Linked DNA regions of Homo sapiens: region 2 is linked to region 1. The links are contacts of gene promoters, found by promoter capture Hi-C in blood cells and fetal thymus (Javierre and others, 2016). All regions are on one chromosome and are shown on one strand. The core of a region is centred on a gene start or on the middle of the fragment in contact, and the rest is flanking DNA. Distances in the headings are between cores, read along the strand shown.

Region 1 (3,537 bases), core at 737-3,236:
AGCTCCTTGAGTCCACTGGAAAGTAAAGAAAGTCCCCCTAGGCTGATTGACATAGTTGTCTTGGAGATTAAGGGTCATTTGACAGGAAAAAGATAGATGTTTAAATTCCAGAGTACAAGCCAGCATGGTGGCTCATCCCTATTATCCCAGCTACTTGGGAGGATGAGGCCGGAGTTCAAGACCAATCTGGGCCACATAGCAAGACCCTGTCTCTAAAAACAAAACAAAAAATAAATATTTAAAATTCCAGAGTGAAGCCTGGGCAACACAGCGAGACTCTGTCTCTACAAAAAACAATAAAAGAAGAATTAGCCGGGTGTGGTGGGATGTTCACGTAATCCTAACCACTGGACATGTTGAGGCGAGAGGATTGCTTGATCCCAGGAGATCAAGGCTGTAGTTTCACCAATATGGTGAAACCCCGCCTCTACTAAAAATACAAAAATTAGCCCAGTGTGCTGGCACATACCTGTAATTCCAGCTACTGGGGAGGCTGAGGTAGGGAGAATCACTTGAACCTAGAGGCAGAAGTTTCACCATGTGGATCAGGCTGGTGTCGATCTCCCGACCTCAGGTGGTCCGCCCGCCTCGGCCTCCAAAAGTGCTGGAATTACAGGTGTGAGCCACCGTTCTAGGACATGTATTTTTGATAGATACATACACCTGCCAGGCAGGATTCACAGTGGTTTGTGATTCTCCCCTGACTCCAAGACTCCAAGCCTAATCCCCGCCCCTGACCAGCTTCTCCTCTCTGAAGGGGAATGGACCCCCCAGCTGGTTGCCGGCCCAAGTGTGCAGAGCCGCGGTTGCGCGCTGGGTGGAGGGGTCCCCCAAGCTCCGGTGCTGGTGGGGCCCGAGGATGCTGTGTCCTTGCGGGCCTCCCTAGCGCTACGAGGACACCTCCAGGCGGCCCGCGGGGACAACAACGGCATTGCGGCCTACCACCTAAAGCTCCTGGGAGGACAACGGGGTTGCAGTCTAGTCGACTGTTCAGGGTGTCCCGGACTCCGGGCTTTAACAGTCGGTAAGGACCCAAACACCGCTGTCCACTGCCCCGACTCCCACCCGCAGAGGGCGCGACCAACCCAGCTCCTAGAGCCACACGCTGCCTCTGGGGGCTTGGCGCCCACACTCTCTCTGCTTGTCTTCCCCTGGCCCGAGAAGCCTGTCCAACCGGCCGAGAGCCATTTCCCTACGGGGTCTCGTCCCTCTGCACGTGCCCAGGGCTGGGACCCCAGACACAGACCTGCCCCGGACGAGGGAACGCACGGAGCTTCCCAAGATGGTTTGAATCAGTAACTGACGGCAAAAGCACGCTTGTGCCCGGCGTCTCTCCCAGTGCCCCGTGCCCTTGGGACCCAAAGTCCGAACCGGTAGCCGGGCGCGGTGGCTCACGCCTGGAATCCCAACACTTTGGGAGGCTGAGAATCGTTTGAGCCCAGGAGTTCGAGCCATTCTGGGCAACATAGGGAGACCCATCTCTGCAAATAATAATAATAATAAATAAATAAATAAATAAATAAATAAATAAATAAATAGCGGGCGCGGTTGCGCGCGTCTGTGGTTCCAGCTACTAGGGGAGTTGAGGTGGGAGGATCGCTTGGGCCCAGGAGTTCGAGGCTGCAGTGAGCCAAGATCGCGCCACTGCACTCCAGCCTGGGCGACAGCGAGACCCCGTCACACACAAAAAAACCCCTAGCTTCCTCTTCTCCCAGAATGCAGGAGTTAGGTGAGGACCCTCTGTTCCCTCCAACCCAAGACCTAGGAGTCCGAACACATAACGCCCTCCAGGCGGTGCCAGGATCCCCAGAACTGCTGTCCCCTCAAGAACACACGTCCCCTACGTGGGAGGCCGCGACCAGCGACTCCGCCCACTTCTCCCAGCCGGCTGTTACGTAACTGCAACGACAGCCAGTCAGACGCGGCAGCGCCGGATGGCGGGAGGCGGGAGTTGGAGGCCAAGGGAAGCGCTGGGCGGAAGTGGCTGTGGCTTTGCCCTTTGGCCTTTGCTGGCTGTGTGGCGGCTCCGCGGTTCGCAGGTCGTTCGCTGAGCGTCTCTGCTTAGCCGCGGTCATGAGCCGGCACAGCCGGCTGCAGAGGCAGGTTCTGAGCCTGTACCGCGATCTGCTGCGCGCCGGGCGTGGGAAGCCGGGCGCCGAGGCGCGAGTGCGGGCAGAGTTCCGGCAGCATGCGGGCCTGCCGCGGTCCGACGTGCTGCGCATCGAGTACCTGTACCGCCGCGGGCGGCGCCAGCTGCAGCTGCTACGCTCGGGCCACGCCACCGCCATGGGCGCCTTCGTACGCCCGCGGGCCCCGACCGGGGAGCCTGGCGGCGTGGGTTGCCAGCCTGACGACGGCGACAGTCCAAGGAACCCCCACGACAGCACGGGGGCACCGGAGACCCGCCCCGACGGACGGTGACAGGCGAAGAGCCGAACTCGCTCGATGGCGTGGTGGAGCCAGGAGGCTCGCCTGACTGCATGGGGGGACTGGGGAACCCGCCTAAGGTGAGAGGTCTTAAGAGACTAGCTTGACGAATTGGGGATGTCAGAGACTCCTCCTTGGCGACGCAGGGGGCCTAGAGAGCCCCGTGATGGACGGCAAGGGAGGCCCGCCTTTTCCGATGCTTGGAGACAGGTCGGTGCTCCTCCCCCATGAGGGCTTGGGGCGGCCTGGGACGCTGGCGGGCTGGACAGTGTCAAGCCAAGAGCTACTTGCCCGAAGGTACGGGGAGCCAGGACGACCCCCGGTGGACAGGGAGAGCCTGAGACGCCCTTCTCTTGACCCCTGAGAACATACCCACTTCTGGCTCCTCAAGGAGTCTCCCCTCTCCTGTATTTAACTCTGAGAAGTGCAGACTTTTTGCTGAGAACGTTTTGGGAAGGTGCCCTGATGAGCGGTGAGAAGCCCGGAATCCCCTTCTGGAAAACTTTCCCCCATTAATTGTGACAAGCCAGGACCATGAGGAAGGGGTAGGGGTCTATCACCCTGGTTGATCAACTGAAGACCCCCAAAGGCCCCTACTTGATGGTTTTGAGGGGCAACATTGACTCATTTGCCCCTTCCCTCTCGGAATGTTGGACAAAGGGAATAAAATTGGGGATATGTCTACTTCCCTGTTGGTGGTCTTAAAGCTTTTATATATTTCAGGATTTTTGAAACACCCCCAGCCCCCCTGCCACCACACACACACGCACACAGACACCTGGAAGGGACCATCTGGGAGGTGATAGGTGTGGGGATCTGACTCCTTCCGGAGCCCTGTAGACTGGCACATTGATTGAAGCGGCATAGTTTTCTCCCCTGGGCAGATCTGTGGAGGGGGCTCATCCTGGCTTAACCCCCAAAGATACCCCAGTTGGCTCCCTAATGGAGGGCAAGTGATTTAACATCTTTGTGTGGAAGAGGAAATGGTGGAGCTGAGAACTGGCTCGGAGCCCCTGAGGCAGTAGTGAGGGTCTCAGACCTGGAAATTTCTCAAACCTGGCTGAAGGGTCCAGCCTCAGCTACAGTGAACGACAAGGCCCTGGGGCAGGA
Region 2 (3,537 bases), core at 392-2,891, about 16 Mb before region 1:
TCCGCTTTTTACATCCTCTTTCCCACCTCAGGGCCTCTGAAGGTGCTGTCCTCTCCAAAGATGTTCTTCTCCACCTGGCTTCCTATAGCATGCAACCCCTATCCCTACAGCTTTTATTGCCATTTATTTTATTTTTTTCTTTTCTCAGATTGGTACAGGATGGTCTCACTATGTTGCCCAGGCTGGTCTCAAACTGCTGGACTCAAGTGATCCTCCCACTGGGAGGCAGCTGGGATTACCTACCCATGCTACCATGCCTGGCTTATACTTTTTTGCTTTTGTTTGAGACAGGGTCTAGCTCTGTCACCCAGGCTGGAGTGCAATGGCTTGATTCGGCTCACTGCAGCCTCAGCCTCCTAAGTAGCTGGGACTACAGGCTTGCATCATCACACCTAACTAATTTTTTAATTTTATTTTTAGTAGAGACGAGGTCTTACTACATTGTCCAGGTTGGTCTCGAACTCCTGAGCTCAAGCAATCCTCCTGCCTCAGCCTCCTAAAGTGCTGTGATTAGAGATGTGAGCCACTCCACCCAGTCCTTATTTTTTGCTATTTACATTCCCTCCCCTAAATCATGTACTCGAGAGCAGGGACTATGTCAGCACCCGGTTCCCTATCCAGTTATTGTAAGGATTCAATAAAAATTTGCTGAATTCATTAAAAAGAAAATAGGTCTTCCATCTCCACCCACTCCTCTACTAACCCTTTTCCCAAAAGTTCTCGATGGTTCCCACACCAAGTTACCCCAGTTCAGTTCTTCAGTCTCCTGCAGACATTCCTGAGTCCCATTCCCAGCCACTCACTCTCCATCATCTGCCCTGGAAACTTCCCACCCACAGGCCGGGCTCGGTGGCTCGCGCCTGTAATCCCAGCACTTAGGGAGGCCGAGACGGAATGAGTGCTTGAACCCAGGAGTTTAAGCAACTATAGCGAGACCCCTGTCTCTACAAAATATACAAAAAAATCAGCCGGGCGTGGTTGCACGTGCGCCTGTGGTCCCAGCTACTCGGGAGGCTGAGGCAGGAGAATCAACTGAGCCGGGGAGGTGGATGCTGCAGTGAGCCATGATCACGCCACTGCACTCCAGCCTGGGCGACAGAGCAAGACCGTGTCAAACAACAACAAAAAAACTTCCAGCCGCAGGAGTCCCATTAACGTACCCATTTAGTCATTCACTCGTCAAAAGTCCCGTACGTGCCCATTTCTCAGCCCTACTCCCTAAACCCCTAAACCCAACCTTCTCGCCCCAAGATGAGCTGCTGAAAATCCTTCACGCCACTGCTCGGCCCCATAAGGCCTATCCAGCCCGTTCCGTTTGAACCCCATACATCCCTTCGTCCTCGGGACCCCCCTCCAGCCCTCCTCAAGCGCCCCTCGTCAGTCTGGCCTCCACGCCCCGTCCCCTCAGCCCGCCAACCTCACTGCCACGACCCTGCGTGGCCCCTGCCGAGCCCGCGGGCAGCACCTGGCCTGTGCCTCGTCCAGGCTCTGGTCGGTGATGGCCATGATCTGCTGCAGGACGTCGCTCGTGTCGAGGCGCCGCGGGGCGGGGGGCGATGGCGCGGGGCGCGGCGGGGCGGCCATGAGCGGCAGGGCCGGGCGGGCGCTGTGAGGGTGCCGTCGAGCCTGGAGCACTACCACTGGCGCCGCAGCCAACCGCCGCTGCCTGAGCGCCGCGCCCGCTCTCGCTCGCGCCTAAGCCACGCCCACCGCCGCTATCGCCAGCCAACCCGTGTATTGCACCGCCTACAGACACGCCCCTTCATCTCCGTCAGCCAACCGGCGCCACGCACCGCCCCCGGGACTCGCCCCGAACTTCCCCCTCTCCGGGCTTGGACTGGGTTTGGGGTTGCCGAGGCAACGGCACTTCTCATAAGCGCCCTCCTTCCCCTTGAGAGAGGGCAGCGCTGGCTCCGCTCCAGCCAGAGGCCCCCATCCCTCACATCTCGCGCGGTGCACGCCTCCTTCAGCCCCACTCGCATCTCCTCAGAGTTCCTGCTCCTCCTCAGGGCCCCCTTCTCCTCAAAGCCCTCGGTCCTCAGAGACCCTCACTCCCCAGAGCACCCCAACTCTTCCTCCAAGCCACCCCCTCCTCCTCAGAACCCCACACCTCTTATAGCTTGATCGACAGCCCCCATTCATTTCCAGAAGCCCCAAGCCCCAGACCCCTGCTCAGTCCCCCTAATGCTCCCTGCATCCTCAGCCCCATCAGGTGGGCCACTGGGGCCCCTGGCTCTTCCTCTAGAGCTTTCCACGCCCCGTTCACCTGGCTAAGGCGGGGCGCAGGCGTGCGTGGTTGATGGCAACGAGGAGGTCAGAACGCAGCGCTTTTCTCCACTGCAGAAATCAATTCCAGTCACCTTTCAAGGTCCAGCTGAAGAGTGACCTCGCTTGTTTATTCATCTTCGCAGATTACAGTTCTGGGCATAGAAAATGCTACCACGTGGTTACCGAATGAAGGAAGGATGTTTACTGAGAGACTCCCCTGCAGTGTACCCCAAATCAGAGCGAATCCTCACATCTTTGTTTCTAGTCCTTAGGACACAGCATCGAAGGCTCCTAGTGCACAAGAAAAGGAACTGGGCGGTGGCTCATGCCTGTAATCCTAGCACTTTGGGCGGCAGAGGCGGGAGGATCACTTGAGCACGGGAGTTTGAGACCAGCTTGGGCAACATAGTGAGACCCCGTGGTGGTGCACGCCTGTGGTCCCAGCTATTTGGGACTTGAGAGGCTGAAGTGGGAGGATCACTTGGGCCTGGGAATTTGAGGCTGCAGTGAGCCATGATTGCACCACTGCACTGCAGCCTGGTTGACGGAGACCAGGTCTCAAAAAAAAAAAAAAAAAAAAAAAGTAATGGCCTGGACATGAATCTCTTCTCCAAAGTCACAGAACCTCCTGGAGCCTATTTGCTATGAGGACAGTCTCCAGATGTGGGCTCAGTAAAAGGTCCTCAGCCTGCTGGCTGGGAGCCCTTCCAGGGTGGGGCCCACGTTCTCTCCATTGCTGCTGGGGAGGAAATTCAAACACCATCTGGTATGGCTGGATTGGAGAGCGTCGGGAGACTCCAAAGGGGACGGCAGGGAGTGAAAAATGAAAGACATTGACCGAGTGTCTGGACAATAGGGAAAGCTCTCTGATGAAGGAAACCGACACTTGGCTCCAATGACAGAAAGTAATAGATTGCATGGGAGCCACGGAGACCAGTGCCTGTTCAAAAGGTCACCCACAAGCACAGCACTGCCCAGGAGGCCTGAACAGTAGTGGCCTTCAGGCTGGGTGCAGTGGCTGACACCTATGATCCCAACACTTTGGGAGTCTGAGGTGGGAGATTACTTGAGCCCAGGAGTTCAAGACCAGTCTGGGGAACATAGTGAGACCCCATCTCTACAAAAATAAAAATTAAAAAAATAGCTAAATTAGCTGGTCATGGTCCCAGCTACTTGGGAGGCTGAGGCGGGAGGATAAGTTGGGCTCAGGAGGTCGAGGCTACAGTGAGCTGTGTTTGTGCCACTGCACTCCAGCCTGGGTGAGAGAGC

The links. Contacts are between HindIII fragments. The CHiCAGO score rates a contact against its expected background, and 5 or more counts as called.
Region 2: the fragment with the promoter of PBX4 here is called in contact with the fragment with the promoter of SDHAF1 in region 1 in 3 of 17 cell types (monocytes, M0 macrophages and M1 macrophages); the score reaches 15.9 in monocytes.

What each region holds. Positions count from the first base shown.
Region 1 is chr19:35,993,202-35,996,738 of GRCh38, forward strand. It overlaps SDHAF1 (succinate dehydrogenase complex assembly factor 1), which reads left to right and starts at 1,987. Exons shown (of 1, transcript NM_001042631.3): 1 at 1,987-3,111. The coding sequence starts at 2,074. The coding sequence ends at 2,421. RefSeq lists enhancers at 950-1,449, 1,784-1,833, 2,094-2,173 and silencers at 2,234-2,293, 2,324-2,443. The HindIII fragment of the contact is 4,511 bases long and covers 1-3,132 here.
Region 2 is chr19:19,617,046-19,620,582 of GRCh38, forward strand. PBX4 (PBX homeobox 4) reads right to left here and starts at 1,642. Exons shown (of 8, transcript NM_025245.3): 1 at 1,466-1,642. The coding sequence starts at 1,584. RefSeq lists a silencer at 1,424-1,633. The HindIII fragment of the contact is 7,939 bases long and covers 1-3,537 here.